Linked DNA regions of Homo sapiens: all the other regions are linked to region 1. The links are contacts of gene promoters, found by promoter capture Hi-C in blood cells and fetal thymus (Javierre and others, 2016). All regions are on one chromosome and are shown on one strand. The core of a region is centred on a gene start or on the middle of the fragment in contact, and the rest is flanking DNA. Distances in the headings are between cores, read along the strand shown.

Region 1 (4,952 bases), core at 1,559-4,058:
AGTGAAGGAAATTGTAAGGTAACAGTTCTGACTGAAAACCTAAATCCTTCGTCATCACTACAGGGATACAAACCCCAACACTACTCTGCTGCTGAATGGACTCAGTGGCACGATCATGTTTCACTGCAACCTCCGCCTCCTGGCTTCAAGCGATTCTCCTGTCTCAGCCTCCCAAATAGCTGGGACTACAGGCACATGCCACCATGCCTGGCTAGTTTTTGTAGATCTATATTTTTGTAGAGACAGGGTTTTGCCATGCTGGCCAGGCTGGTCTCGAACTCCTGACCTCAAGTGATCCACCCGCCTTGGACTCCCAAAGTGCTGGGATTACAGGCATGAGCCACCATGCCTGGCCATGGACTCAGTCATTTTAATGAGCAGATTTTACTTCTCAAGTTTAATGACCAAGAGATGAAAACTGCTGAGAAATATATAAAATATTGAAACTAACGTGGTCATTAAACTTGAGAAGGGCAGCACGGTAGACTGGAAAAGGGCAAAACAAATGATCCTGAGGCACCCACACATATACAGGAAGTCCCCAAATGGGCCGTGATACATTTTCAGTCCTCTGGGAATCTGAAAAGAGCAAAAACTGGGGACCTACAGAGAAATGCTGTGGAGAGAGTAGGAAGGACTTCAGGGAGCTGCCATTCTGTCAGATCAAATTAAAAGCATGTTCAAAGACAGAATCCTCTTGAGCCCCTTGCTCTCCTCCCTACCATCTACTCTAGAAAGCTGGTGGCCAACAGAGCAGGCAGCTGTGGTGCCTGCTCCAGGCACCAAGACAACTGAAGATGCTGCTGTGAACACAGAAGAGGTAACAGCCATGCTGCTTGATTCAGGCTCCCCACTGCTTGCCAGGGTTACATCCTAGAAGATCCTAGAAGATCTGGACCACAAAAAAGCCACCCGCCCACATCTGGCTCTGCATAGGGGTACATCTCATTGTCATTGCAGCCTTCCTGGTCAAAGCTGTCTTCTAGGGAAGTGGGGGACAGGGATTATCACCAGCTGGATAATGAGGAAGAAGGGGCAAGCTCTGTTGCTTCAGAGTTGCACGTTTCCTCCTAATACCCACTAGTGTTTTGACAAACTGTGCCTTATGGGACACCAGGTCAACACTGCATGACTGCCACCCAACCAGAAATGCTGTCGTGGTGAAAAGGGGAAGCCCCAGCACTCTCAGTGGGGTAGATAACAATAGACTATGACAAGGAGACGCATTTGCAAAATTTTCCTTTGAAAACGTAATGTAATAATTTATAACTACACTAGTGATTTTTTTTCCTATTCTCCTGGTTTGCAAATGGCTGGACAAATCCACAGGAAAGAAATTATTTTAATTATCACCTGATGATTTTATTTCCTGCTTTGAACCACTTAGTCCCTTCCAGGTCTCCTTGCACTCAATAGTGTTAGAATGCTCTACTTGTGTTCACTTCAGAAAATGTCCCCTAAACTCTTTTTTTTTAAGAGATGGGATCTCACTTTGTCACCCAGGCTCCAGTGAGGTGGCACAGTCATAGCTCACTATGGCCTCGAACTCCTGGGCTCAAGTGATCCTCCTGCCTCAGCCTCCCAAGTAGCTGGGACTACAGGTGGGTGCCACCACCCCTAGCTCATTGAAAAAGTTTAGAAGTTTGAACTTGTACAGATAGCTGAGTTTCTTGGGTGTGACCTATTTAAACCAGGTCATTTTTAAATGCTCTTTCAAAGTCTGATTTTATTAATAAATGAAATCATCCCATCATAAGGGAAACAATGAGAAATCTATGAAGGGAAAACATATCCATTAATATGAGGCACCCTGAAAATTAAACTGTTTGGTGGAAGGAACAACCATCACTTTCAATTTCTTTTTAAAGCAACTTCCAGAGAATAAGCTATGTTAAGTAAAATCAAAACAGGAAAAGCCACATCTAGGTGGATTTCAAACGAAATGATACCTCTCTGAAAAAAAAGCAAAAACAAAACCTTAATGCCTGGTGAAGTTTGAGGGGGGTCTCATAATCACAGAGCCATCAGGAAGCGGCTAGAAACAATGAAGCAGGGTTTCAAAATGACTGGTACAGGATGTACCCATAGAAAGAAATGTTGCGCGCACTGGTGGAGCTGCCAAAGTTACTACTGCAAAGTACCCTGAACTTTTAAAGCGTGGCTTGGGGTCACTCTGACCACACTCTTTCCAATCTGGTCGCCTTGCAAACACGCTAGGATAATTGGCGGGAGGGGGGAGGGGAGAGATGCGCGGACCAGTGAGCTGGCGGGGGTTGGGGGAGAAGCCGGCGGAGCTCTCGGGTCGCTAGCAACATTAAGGTTTCGCTTTCGTCCAAGGGCGGCGGGGGTGGGGGGGTAAGGGGGGCAACGAGATGGCAATGAACTTCCTCCCCCGAGAGACCCTGGCCTCGCGTCCGTGGGCGGCCAGATGCCTTCCCCTCCGCGGCCAGGCGGGGCAGGGGCGTGCTGCGGGAGGGGGCGGCCGCGACGCCCCGAGAGGAGCCAGCAGGGTGGCCAGGACGAAGCCCCAGGAAGCGCCTTACCTGTGCCGCGGCGCGCTCAGAGCCCGGGGCCGGGCCGGGACGCGCAGGTGCTTGGGGGCATCCTGGGGACGGCCTGGGCGGGCGGGGAGTCCATCGCACCCGGCTGGCTGCGCTCTTCCCGCCGCGGGGGGACGGGGAGGGGGCTCCCCTCGGCTCGGCGCCCGCCTCTTCTCCACCCAGCTGAGGACACAGCAGGTCCCGCGGCGGCGGCAGCAACAGGCACCGGCGGACGGTGGCGGCACCAGGAGCAGCAGCCGAAGAGGAGGAGGAGGAGGAGGAGGAAGAAGAGGAGGAGAAGGAGGAGGTGTCTGCGCGCGGCTCTGGTTTCCTCCTCCCAGCCTGGGCGAGCGCGCTGGAGGCGAGGGGAAGACAGGAGCCGGGATCTCCCCACTCGGTCCCCGGGGAGCTGGGAGGGGGACTCGGTGTCCTCCTCCTCCCCACTGCGCCGTGTGACTGTGCCTGGGCAGCACGGCCCGGACGGGCGAGTCACACGCGAGCAACAGCTGCTGCACTGCGGGTCCGCCGCGGCCTCCCTCCCCTCCTTGCCACCCCCCGCCCCCAAGCCCGCGGGCCATCCTCAGCCAGTGTCTGTGGGGGGAATAGGGGGGAAGTACTCGGGCCGCCGCCCCATCCAGACCCCTGCGCAGGATCTGGGCACAGCGTTTCCCTGGGGAGCCGGGGGCGCGGGGCCCCGCGCGTGATGCAGGCCCTCGTGGCGGGATGTACAGTCGCACACCCTGTCCTTGGCGGCCTATTTATAGCAGGTGGCACTGCCCGCCGCTTGCTCGGCCTGAGTGGCTCTCAGCAGGTGGCACTGCCTGCCCGCTCTCCGCGCTCCCGAAGGCGCCTCGCCTCATCTGCACCCTCCTCTTCTCCCTCCGAAACAGACGTGGTGGAAACTGCACACAACATGGGGGGCGGGGGCCGGGGGCGACCAAGCCACCTTGCTCTCCCCCGCCTTACCCCTTCTCCCCGTCCTTGGAGGATGGCAAGAGGTGAACTGAGGCACGGATGCCCTATGGGGCGCTGGCATGCGAGGCAGGAAAATCAGGGACTCTGGGAAACAACGAAGGCGAAGTGCCCTCCCGGGATTAAACACCAGGAAACTCCATTTCTAACCAATTGCGGGAGTGACGCAGAGCCTGGATTAGGCGCTTTTTCCTGCCCCGCGAGCCCGGCACACGCGCAGGAACACACACCACACGCACACGCACACCCCAGTGTGCATGCCCCGATCAGGTCTGGGGACATTCCCAGCGGTGATGTAGAGTGCAAGGAAAGACGCGGAGATGTGAAAAGCGGGACAGAGCTCGCTCCCTAAGACTAGGGGATGGCAGTGTGCAAAAAACAGGCGAAGCTCCCAGATCCCTATCCCACCAGGCACAGAGGCGCAACGTCACTCGCAGGGTGGGGAGAGGGATCTGAGAAAAGTAAGAAGCATCACATCCTCTCCAGAGAAGAGTCCGCAGGGAGGGGAGAGCCGGGTGCTCGGAGGAGGCAGTTCCAGACCCCCAGGTGGCATCTTTCTGGATTTTTTTACTTAATGTAGCTGGGGGTGGACTTTAGGGAAGTGGCTGAGCGTTTGAGCTGTACGGTTGGACTTGAATCCAAATCCCAGCAGGTGTGGTTTAGGCAAGGTGCTGGACCTCTGGTCTTCATTGTCTTACCTGCTAAATGGGACCAATACACACCTTACAGGATCTTTGTGAGGACAAAGCAGGAAAGTGTAAGTAAAGTGGCCAGTGCAGTGACACAGACGTACATGGTCCTCAACTAAAAGCAGCAGCTATTATCAATATTACTGTGGCCCAGGAGGCAAATAGAGGGCCAGGTTTCCTCATCGTACCAAGAGCAGTGTCTTCCTTGAAGCCCACTGAGCTTCTTGTAGGCTTTTAGATTAGGGCTGTCTTATGGCATTCCCTGATTTCCCTGGATGCTTACATCCAGGGGAGGTATTTTTAAGTGGACCCAAGAGTTTTATTCACAGCTTGACTTAAAACTCTCACAATAGTGGTAGCTATTCTTTACGGAGGAGTTAGTCGATTTGGGGTATTGTGCTAGATACTGTCCTTATATATTGTTGCTAATTTGCTCAAAAACTCTGCAGGGCAAAGATTGTTAAATCCATTTGACTAAGGAGAAAAGTAAGAGGTTAGTGCCTACAGGGTTAGTGGGTGCTGGAATCTCCAAGATCCAAAGCCCTTTATAATATACTTGCTCTCTGGCCACTGTGTAGCCCTCAGCTCATTCTTTGTCATTGAGTAGTTATTTGTGTGCATAGCCTCAACTCTTTTTTAAGAAATATACAGTCATAAATACTGTAATGAGTAGAATGTTAACTGGGTTATGGAAATTATTCTTTAGGTTACAAGACCAGGTAAACCAGTTAAACCATATTGTTATCACTTG
Region 2 (4,952 bases), core at 1,111-3,610, 1.6 Mb after region 1:
CTAAGCATTGTTCTAATCTTGGAGGTGGCTTAAATAGTTTTTCTCTCTGTGGATCTTAAACATCTAGCTGGAGTGACTAAACTTGCGTTTGATAAAGATCAAAGAAAACTAAAAATGTACATTCAAAAGAGCAAATTAGCAATGTATTAAACAAGATTTTTAAAGAATGCATGAAATAGACAAGAAAGCAATAGAGAGAAACACAACCAACAGATGTCAAATATCAAAAACTTGAGACATCCTCAAATGCAACTTCAAACTGTTGCATAGACCTCGATTTGTGGAAAGAACGGGGGAATCACAGATGAACCAATAGTGTAGCAGTCAGAAGAACTTCACAGTGAAACCAGCCCCAGTGATGTAGCCACAGCTGTGAAGCTGTTTCCCTCTGTCATCTTGTTATACCAAGCACATCTTGTTTCCATGGGGACAAGAATTCGGAAGCAGCCATATCTTGAACTTAAAAGAAAGAAAGAAGGGTCTTCTGGGTTATATACCAATTTATTATTAATGACGAGACATTCTTCTGCTCAGTCCTTGAATTTCTCATGCTGGTGGATTTAGTTTAATTTGGTTGATCCAGAGAAGACTTTGTGGATGTGAGTTTGAATGAAAATGTACAGTGTTTTTTTTTTTGTTTTTTTTTTTTTTTTTCTGGCCTACAATGTGTAAGCCATGAAAGAAACAGTTTTACTCCTGCCTGCTCCTTCTCTAGGTGTTCCTGGGATTTTTACCTCTGCTGTATATTACTTGCTAATGCAACTTTTCCCCTATGTTTACTCTCAAATGACTTTCTTGGATACAAAAAGGAGAAAACATAGTAGTATATATTATCAGATAATTACTTCTAGCCCCTTTCAGCCGAATCTTGAGATTGGAAGTTTGGATCCCTTACAAGTCTTCAGAAAAGTCTTTTATGCTGTGGCTGATTGCATTAACTACACAAGATACAGTTTCCTTTGAGGTTTTGAAAGATACATTTTTTGGAGAGCCTCAATACTGAGGTAAAATATAGCTTATAGCACTTCATAAGATCAGGCTGAAAGGACTTCTCACAAGTAGACAATTCTATTTCAATATTTTTGAAGAAAACAAGAGCAACCACCATAAACAGCTAAACAAAACACCAGAAATATAACAAATATCAGTGGCATCTAAGTATACATATAGAGTTATACACACATTCTATCATAAATTCCATGTCTTATGGAGAAATAAAATTCATCCATTTTGGTGAATGCTAATAACTCCCACTTTAGACACTAAGCTTATCAAGATAACATAAAAGCATGTTTATTTACCAGATGTTTGCTAAGCATCTACTATGTGCTTTCACATTTGTGTGCCTACTCTTCTAGGCACTGAGAAGAAAAGTTTCATTTCTCAGGCAGCTGAAATTAAAGTATGTATCTTACGTCATGTTTGTGTAGGTTAGCCTACATGGCACAGCTAGCTAGCTAACTATGTTAGTTGGACTTAAATAAACACATTTCTATTGCTATGTAATCTGCCCATATCATATAATTTTGTTTGGAGATCAAATTAATGCTACAGGTAAATAAATACTCAACCTGTTGCAGCATGCAAAGACTATCTGATATTTCACAACAAAGTTAATGCCAAGGTCCTTCAGATGGTATTGCTCTATCATGACTGCTAGAATGAAGTAATTGGTAACAGCTATGCTTGAAACAAAGCAAATTGCTGTATTTCTAAATAGTTACTGAGTCTATTCTTTGTTGTTGTCAAGCTTAGAATCTTTTTTGCACAATATATACCAAAACAGTATGTTTTTAAGCTGGTTATATAATAGTTTCACAGAGCTACTATAATGACTAAGAAATTGTAGATGCTTTTGTTTCATTTTTTCTCCCAAAATGAATTAGCTCTTTTGACTGGTTAAGGATCCATTTTCATGACGTCAGACCACTGAATGGAATTTTGAGTTCTTAGAACTTCAAAAGCTTCATTATCTGATGTAACATTCAAATCTAATTTGAAAGGAAATGCTTCATTACAGTCCATGTCCTCAGCATGTCTTTGTAAAGAGAAAAGAGTTAGGAAACTTCCTCTTGCATAGTCACCTCTTAATGTCATTCTTGAATGTGTTCTCCTATGATAATTAGATGTTTAAATATTGAAATAGAATAAGTTTAAATTCAGAAGAAATCATACAATTCCAGAGCTAAAAATGATCCCTTAGGTCTTCCTAGTCCAACCCTCATACTTTATGAATGGAGATACCGAGGGAAGAGCTAGCTGGCTCTCATGATACTACAGAACCAGATCTGTAACCAATCAGCTTCGTGTTCCAGTGCTGCTACCTGACACAGGTTAAACAAAAAGATCCATTCCTTTAAATAAAAAGCATGAGATGTAAATTCGCATGCTTGCTTGAATTGAAACTATTAAATTTTTCACAACTCCCTTCAGTATTCTTTCTTTTTTTGTTCTTTTTTTTAGAGATGAGGGTCTTGCTTTGTTGCCCTGGCTGGAGTGCAGTGACACAATCATACTTCACTGCTGCCTCAAATTCCTAGGCTCAAGTGATCTACCCGCCTCAGCCTCTTAAAATCCTGAGATTACATTCTTGAGCCACACCACCTGGCCTGTTTATTTCTAAAACTTCATCAGTGATTTTTAATCATGGTTTGGGCATAGTAAACATTGATATATACGTACATGTATAATTTATTTAAAATTTTATAGCCTACTTATTTCCATCCCCTCTAAAAAATCCAACTATTTAAGCTTACCTAAAATAAACTCACAAACAATATAAGTACTACTAATAAAGTTTTACAAATAAAAAATTATACAGGGAAAAGAGAAAAAGAATTACTAGGAAAGTGGAAACATCATTCTTAAGCATTGACCTTCACACTGAGTTTCCTGGCCATCAAGGCAATGGCAGAATAAAGTCTTAGTCCCATTTTTAGATGAAAGGAGGTATAAAACATTTCTGCCAGGGAGAGAAAAGGGGAGGTAGCTGGGAAAGGCTTGGTTTGAACTTGGTTGAAGAATAAAAAGAGGGAAGGAAGAAATGAAGGAAAGGGAAGGAAGGAAGGAAGGGAGGGAGGGAAGGAGGGAGGGAGGGAGGAATGAAGGAAGGAAATTTGAATGGGAGCATTTTAGATGGACCCTGCAGTTTTAAGGAGTGATCAACCTAGCCATCCGGGAGGTATCAGGTACTGAATTACAGATGATTTTAGCATCTAGATCTTTATGTAAAGGATTATTAATATAATGAACAAGGTCTCCAAAAGAGGCTTTGAAAAAGCATCAATATTTCTTTCTGGTTCTTATATTGAATCCAGTGAAAGCATTTGAAAATTAAACTGTCTTCCTGGGAACTAATTTTCTTTTAGGCAATAGAGTACTAACTTAGCATATTCTTGATCATCTCAATGGAAGCTGAAATAGAAGATAAAGCAATGGAAGAAAGGAAGATGAGCTTATCCTTTATAGTCTTATTCAAATATTAGATCAACTATGCTTTGGGCCAGAATAAGTGTCAGTCCATTCAATGTTGCATTATATACAGTGAGGTGAAGCGTATCTTCACCTACTCGGATTTCCTGGAACTTGGAAAACTTGCTATATTTTCTCAGATACTCTTTCAGAGATAACTTCACTCTAGACAAAAGACTAGTGGAAGTGAGTGAGAACATAGGCATGGAACAGGTAAATTTCCATGGATGTTCATCCGTGTGGTCTCAGGACAACTGGATTTTCCCATTCTAAGTACACTTTCCAGACATAGCCTGGCTTCTGTTAGGGAAGGAAGGGTATGTGAACTATGAGTGTAAACTCTATATAAAGAAACTCTTATCTTGAAACTCTATGTGGTGAAAAAAAAGGTCTAGAATTAGCACCCAGGCAGTTTTGTTGGTCTAATCAAATTATAGAGGTCAATTTTTCTAAATTAATTATTTGTTTATTAACTTTCCTTTTTTTCCCTCTTTGGTTCTAGACCTTATTTTCTTAGTGTGCTAACATTTTTCTTTCGCAGTTGTGTTCATCCATGTCATCCAAGAAGCAAATAGCTGTACCAGATTAAACATGTAAGAAATTTATTAAGGGAACTGCCAGAGAGAGAAAAGGGGTGGGAGCTGGGAAAGGCTTGGTCTGACCTTGGTTAAAAAAGAAAAACAGGAAAGGAAGGAATAAAGGAAAGAAGGAAGGAAGCAAGGAAGGAAGTTAATTTTGGTGGAATCATTTTAAATGGGTCCTGCAGCCCTGCGGTTTTAAGAAAAGATCAACATAGCCATCTGGGAGGTCTCAAGCCAAAAATCTCTACTCACAAAGGACTTCTGGGTTTCCCAGCAACACACCTGCCTTGGTGTCACTGCCACACCCAGACATTGGCTGAGAGCCAAGGAGAAACTGTGGTCCTAAAGCAACTGAGGCAATGAGTTCCAGAGCTTAGCAGCTAGAGGCATTGGTTAGTTACACTCTCAGCAGTCAGGGGTCCGAGATGCACATTCTCATGGGAGCCACAGCAATATGCATATTATTGCTTTAATGCACTTTGAGCAAGTTAATCATATTACTTCCCATTTTTGTCTATTTGTTTAATATAGAATAATTAAAATCATTTTTTGAATATTCAGTAGGTGACTTGTTAAAAGCTTTCCATGCATTATGTTATTTCATCTTCTCAAATACCCTGTTATGAGTCCCATTTTACAGATTACTTAGTTCATTTTCTTACACGAACAGGCTATGATACACTATTACATTATCTTGGTAAAACTAAGAACTACGTTTCCCAGAATCCCCTCACCTATATAGTCCCTTACCAATATAGAGTTAGTGAACAGAAAAGCTTGCAAAAGATTTGAAAATTGGAAGTGACACAGCAGACAATAGTCTGTGAAAGCTGTTTTGCAGTCTGAGGAGGTAATGGATAGATTAGTGGTGCTCAGTAGATTCCAGTGTGCCTTCTTTCT
Region 3 (4,952 bases), core at 740-3,239, 1.6 Mb after region 1:
AGATCTAGATTTGCCAAACCCTCTAAAGGTACAAAGGAAATGACAGGCGGTATGACATAGTGGTAAAAGTGGTGGACGTAAGGAAAACAAGGATCTGGCTTGCCCAAGGAATAGAAGGAAGCTGGTAAAGCATAAAAGAAAAACAACCTTGTAGTCTGGGTCCTCATGCGGGCTCTACTCCTGTGAAGTCCTACAAGCTGAGCCAATAAACTAAACTTTCTTACTGAAGTCTCTAACTGACTGAGATAATGTCTACAAATGACAGGGCCTACATCAGTAATTCATCAAATGAACCCACATGTGATGTGTAGGCCCTGATTGGACATTGTTTTTGAACAAATCAACTGCAAAAAGAAAAAAAATATTGAGTCAGTAGGAAAATAGGGAATAGGGGCTGGGCAGTAGCTGATATAGTGTAGTAATTACTAATTTTATTGGGTGTAGCAATAGTAATGTGGTCATGTGTCTTTTTTTAAAGTTTTTACCTCTTAGAGAAGCATTGTGAAGTCTTTACACATAAAATGATATTGCACCTGTGATTTGCTTTAAAATACTCCAACAAAACAAACCCACAAACCAGGGTACTAGACAAAATAAGTATGGCAGAAAGTGATGGGAGGTGTGTCCATGTAGGTTCATTGTATATTTTCTCTGTTTTTGTGTGTATTTAAGTATTTGCGCGTGCTTACGTGCATGCCCACAGGCATGCACACGTGGACACACACACACGGTTTTTTTTCTAAATAAGTACATTAAAAGATCGTAGTACCAGCATCCACCAATAATCTGCTGTTGTCTTCGTGAACTTTCTTATAATTACACAGTGTAGAACTTCCTGAAAACCTAGGCAGAAACGTTTGGCCCTCAAAATAAAAGGAAGTACCTCCACATAGAGAGGTCTGGAAATCAGCACAAATCCACAGAGAAGTAAGATTGCTGTGGAACAAAATAAGAACAGAGTTTAGAGCAAGAAGTGCTGACCAATAGTGGTCTCACTTGGAGGTAAATACAGAAATTCGATTTGGAAACAAAATCAGGCTACTACCAATCATGGAAGCAGTGTAGTTCTGTAGCTTTGTTTAGCTCAGATCTTTGCTTCAAACCCATGCACATTTTTTTATGCAGCCAGCTTTATATTTTGCTTCTTCATTATTTTTTCAGTTGCTTGCTTCTTAGAAAATCACTCTTTCATAACATCAATCTCTTTATAGTTTTTTCAAGGGGAGGGGGGATTGATAAATTTCTCAGTCCTTGATTGGACAAAAGAAGACAGCTTTAGGCCCCTGGTAACCAGATGGATGAATTCAAATAACTCCAAAGAATCTAAGGAGTGGAGACAGATAGAAGGAAGGGGCATCCAGGAATGTGTACAGATATAAAGTGGGCAAAGATCTAGATATTTCAGAAAATATAAATGGAATATATATGGAAGCAGTGAAGAAAAATTATCAAAAGCAGTCTGGAATAGATAAATCTGATTTCTAAATGCATGTCTCTATCTTCATTTTTTACCTACTAAATGGGCAAAGTAGGTGCACCACATGAGGTTGCCATGAGGATTAAATGACGTAATGCACATAAAGCACTTCAAACATGCAAGCGCTCCATAAATCTAAATAATCGTTAAAATGCATAAGACTTTGCTCAGTATTCCAAGTAATTTTGTCAAGAGCAGATATCCTTGACCCATAAATGCAGCTACGTGGAAGACGCTATTACTTCTTAAAGCAGCTCAACAAATCAAAGAAAGATATACAGCATTGCCAGAACTTGCATTAATATTAACCTCCTCTCTTTATTGTTCCACTTTTAGATTATAATACCCACAGGTTTTGTCACTCCACTTTAATCCTGTCCCTATTTATTCCTGTGCCTATTTAACTCTTAGCATAATTCTTTCTAGGTTATTATAGCAGATTTAAAAAAATCCTGGGCCAGGCGCGGTGGCTCACACCTGTAATCCCCGCATTTTGGGAGGCCAAGGCAGGTGGATCACCTGAGGTCAGGAGTTCGAGACCAGTCTGACCAATATGGTGAAACCCTGTCTCTACTAAAAACACAAAAATTAGTCAGGCGAGGTGGCAGGCACCTGTAATCCTAGCTACTTGGGAGGCTGAGACAGGAGAATTGCTTGAACCCAGTAGGCAGAGGTTGCAGTGAGATGAGATCATGCCACTGCACTCCGGTCTGGGTGACAGAGCGAGACTCCGTCTGAAGAAAGAAAAAAAAAAAAAAAGAAAAACAAATCCTTGTTTTGGTTTGGCTTTTTGGATCATAGCTAGAAATAGTTTTTCCAATAGAAAGAGTAATCTGAATGTTTCTGGGAAAGGCCTGGACAGCCACACACAAAATGTCACCCTCCCAGGTCTTGCCACAGTGTGTGAAATCCTATTAGTCATTCCTTTAAAGTCATGAAAGGCTTCTGCTAAATGCAACTGCTAGATGGGAAGAAAACAGGTAAGGCTTCTGTCAGCTATTAAAACTCCACCTTCAATTGCTTTTTCAATTTCCCCAGCATGCTTTCATTTATTCATTAAAGAGTTCAGCAAAACATTATTGAATGCATCCTCGGGGAAGGGATTACAAAATTGAATGAGCAGTGCTCTCAACCCTGAGGAACTCAGTCTCAAAAGCAGACAGTAGAGTATAATGTTAGGAGTGTTGCCATTGAAATCAGACAAACTTGGTTTCAAACAGTAGTTTTGCCATTTCCCCTTGGGGAAAACCTCTATATGCTTCAGTTTCTTAAATGAAGAAACTTTTATTTAAGGTTTTTTTTTTTTTCAATAAATAAGTTAATGTGTAAATGCTTTGTCAAGTTACTAGCAGGGAATAATTTAGTAGGTATTCATCATTATTATCATTACCATGATTTTTATATAAATAAAAATTATAATGGACCATATGTTTATATATATAATATATATGTTATATATATATTCAAAGTGCTTTAGTTACAGATACAGTGCAGTGTCTAATACTTCCTGGAAAACTTAAAGACTGCTCCTAAAGAGGGGATAATAGGGTTAAGTGTGGAGTCATTGCTGTCACAATGGCAGCCCGTGGGAAGAGTCTTGAAGAGAAGTGAGGCTTTAAGTAGAACTGGAGCAAAATATGTTAGTTGGGGAAATGTAATATAAAAAGGTTATGACGATGAGCTGTGGGAGTTTGCAATGGGCCCTATATGCCACGGTAACTGGCTTGGACTTTTAATCAATAGACATCCAATGAGAAGTTTTGGAAGAGTGATGAAATCATATTTGTTTTTGAGAAAAATCAAGCTGTCAATTGTGAGGAAGGCAGCCTAAAGCAGATAAGGGAACTAGTGATAGGCCTCCAAGGAAAATGTTGCTATCATCTGTGTGTTAAGGCAATATTAGAGGGACTGAAGATGAAATGCAAGTTTAAACAACACTTCCAAAGTAAAATCAACAAACACTGTATTATATCACAGGACAGTAGCTCAAACCAGTGTACTGAGAGCAACCTTGGAAATCCCCTTCACGACTTCCTCTATCTGCCAATATTCTCCTGCCACCCAGTCCCACACACATTCACTCTATCACCAAGACCTGTTGATCTCAAATCCTGAATCTCTCTCTAACTCTGTTCTTTTCTTGCTATCTTTACTGTCATGATCTTACATAGGCTATCACACTGTCTTCTGTGGACTATTTCATTAGCTCTTTATTTTACTATTGCTAAGCTCATCCATTTCTAGTTTATCCTTATAGGCTGTCGTAGTAATGTTGCTAACAAAACTTGATCATATCACTCTCCTAGTTAAAATTTTCCAATGGCTTTCCAATGGCTTTAGCTGTTACTCAAAAGATAAAAGATCAACTTAATTATAAACAAACCAGATACCTATTTCTCCATCCTCAATTATGGCCATACCAGTTTCAAGAGTATCAGTAGATGAGAGATTTTGTTGTTTACTCAAAAACTAAGGGTCTCTGGTTTGCATGTGCTCTCTATGTCATGAAATCAATCACAGTTTTTTGGTGAATTTTGACAGAAAGCTTGCTACCACAACTACAGAGTCATTTAGTTAATCTAAGTAAGGAATTAAAGGCCCTCCATAATCTTTCCCCAGCTTATTTCCAACATGACATTTCCAAATCTTCCCCTGAAGAAACAGGTGCATTCATCATCCTTTCTCGGAACACGTCTTGTGCTTGACCACTTCAAAGTTTCTACTCATGCCATCTCTCTTGTGTGAAACTCATTGCCCCTTTCTCTCTTCCTCTCCAGACCCTAAACATTCTCTGCAATCATTTTGCTCCCTGAAGCACCCGCAAGTCACCTCAGTCCACAGCGTTCACCCCCTTCTCTGAAATGCCCTAGCATTTAACATCTTACTATTCATTTGCAATTAACAATCAGTTCCTGCCTTTTGCTATTGCTGTATTGTTGTATTCAATTATTATTTATCTCTTGCTTTGTTTTATAACTTTTAAAGTTTTATACTTTATTTCCTAAACTGGACTGTAATCTCCTTGAAAGCTAGAATTTTGGCTTCTACTATTATTATTATCACTTTTAGGCCTTACAGAATATCTTGTATATATTAGGGATTTTGTGGTTGCTAAATTAACGTGTTGACTGATATAATACATCTACAGAAGAAAAAATAAAAACAAAAACAGTTGAAGTTCATAAACTAAAATCTGTTTGAGTTAATGAGCATAACTTTTTACTTATTAAATGTTACAGTTTTAAGAGAATAAGTGCAAACACATCAATGAAATTTTAATTATCAAATTTATTTAGATAGGCAGGAATATCTGTGCTTCCTTTGTAAAAGAAAAATCAAAAGCCCTATAACGATACAGTGCCCAATTCCTGTTTAGTTATACTGCCCTCTAAACAGAGAAAACCTTATCTTTTAAAGCCAAGAGTTGAAGGAGGAAGGAGGAGGGAGGCGTTGAGAGGGGCCAGAGAAGGAGAAA

Evidence for each region. The method cuts DNA at HindIII sites, captures the fragments that hold promoters and counts their contacts. A CHiCAGO score of 5 or more calls a contact.
Region 2: a contact is called between a fragment that was not itself captured here and the fragment with the promoter of TBC1D1 in region 1, in 2 of 17 cell types (M2 macrophages and M1 macrophages). The highest score is 9.0, in M2 macrophages.
Region 3: a contact is called between a fragment that was not itself captured here and the fragment with the promoter of TBC1D1 in region 1, in 1 of 17 cell types (M2 macrophages). The highest score is 5.3, in M2 macrophages.

Annotation. Positions count from the first base shown.
Region 1 is chr4:37,888,940-37,893,891 of GRCh38, reverse strand. TBC1D1 (TBC1 domain family member 1) reads right to left here and starts at 2,808. Exons shown (of 22, transcript NM_001396959.1): 1 at 2,544-2,808. RefSeq lists enhancers at 661-940, 1,371-1,500 and silencers at 1,201-1,250, 2,280-2,779, 3,100-3,289. The HindIII fragment of the contact is 15,185 bases long and covers 1-4,952 here.
Region 2 is chr4:36,264,705-36,269,656 of GRCh38, reverse strand. All of the region lies in intron 3 of LOC439933 (a long non-coding RNA gene), which reads right to left. Among named protein-coding and RNA genes, the nearest start is that of DTHD1, 14 kb to the left of the region's middle. The HindIII fragment of the contact is 787 bases long and covers 1,967-2,753 here.
Region 3 is chr4:36,324,247-36,329,198 of GRCh38, reverse strand. All of the region lies in intron 8 of DTHD1 (death domain containing 1), which reads right to left. Among named protein-coding and RNA genes, the nearest start is that of DTHD1, 45 kb to the right of the region's middle. The HindIII fragment of the contact is 4,071 bases long and covers 1-4,024 here.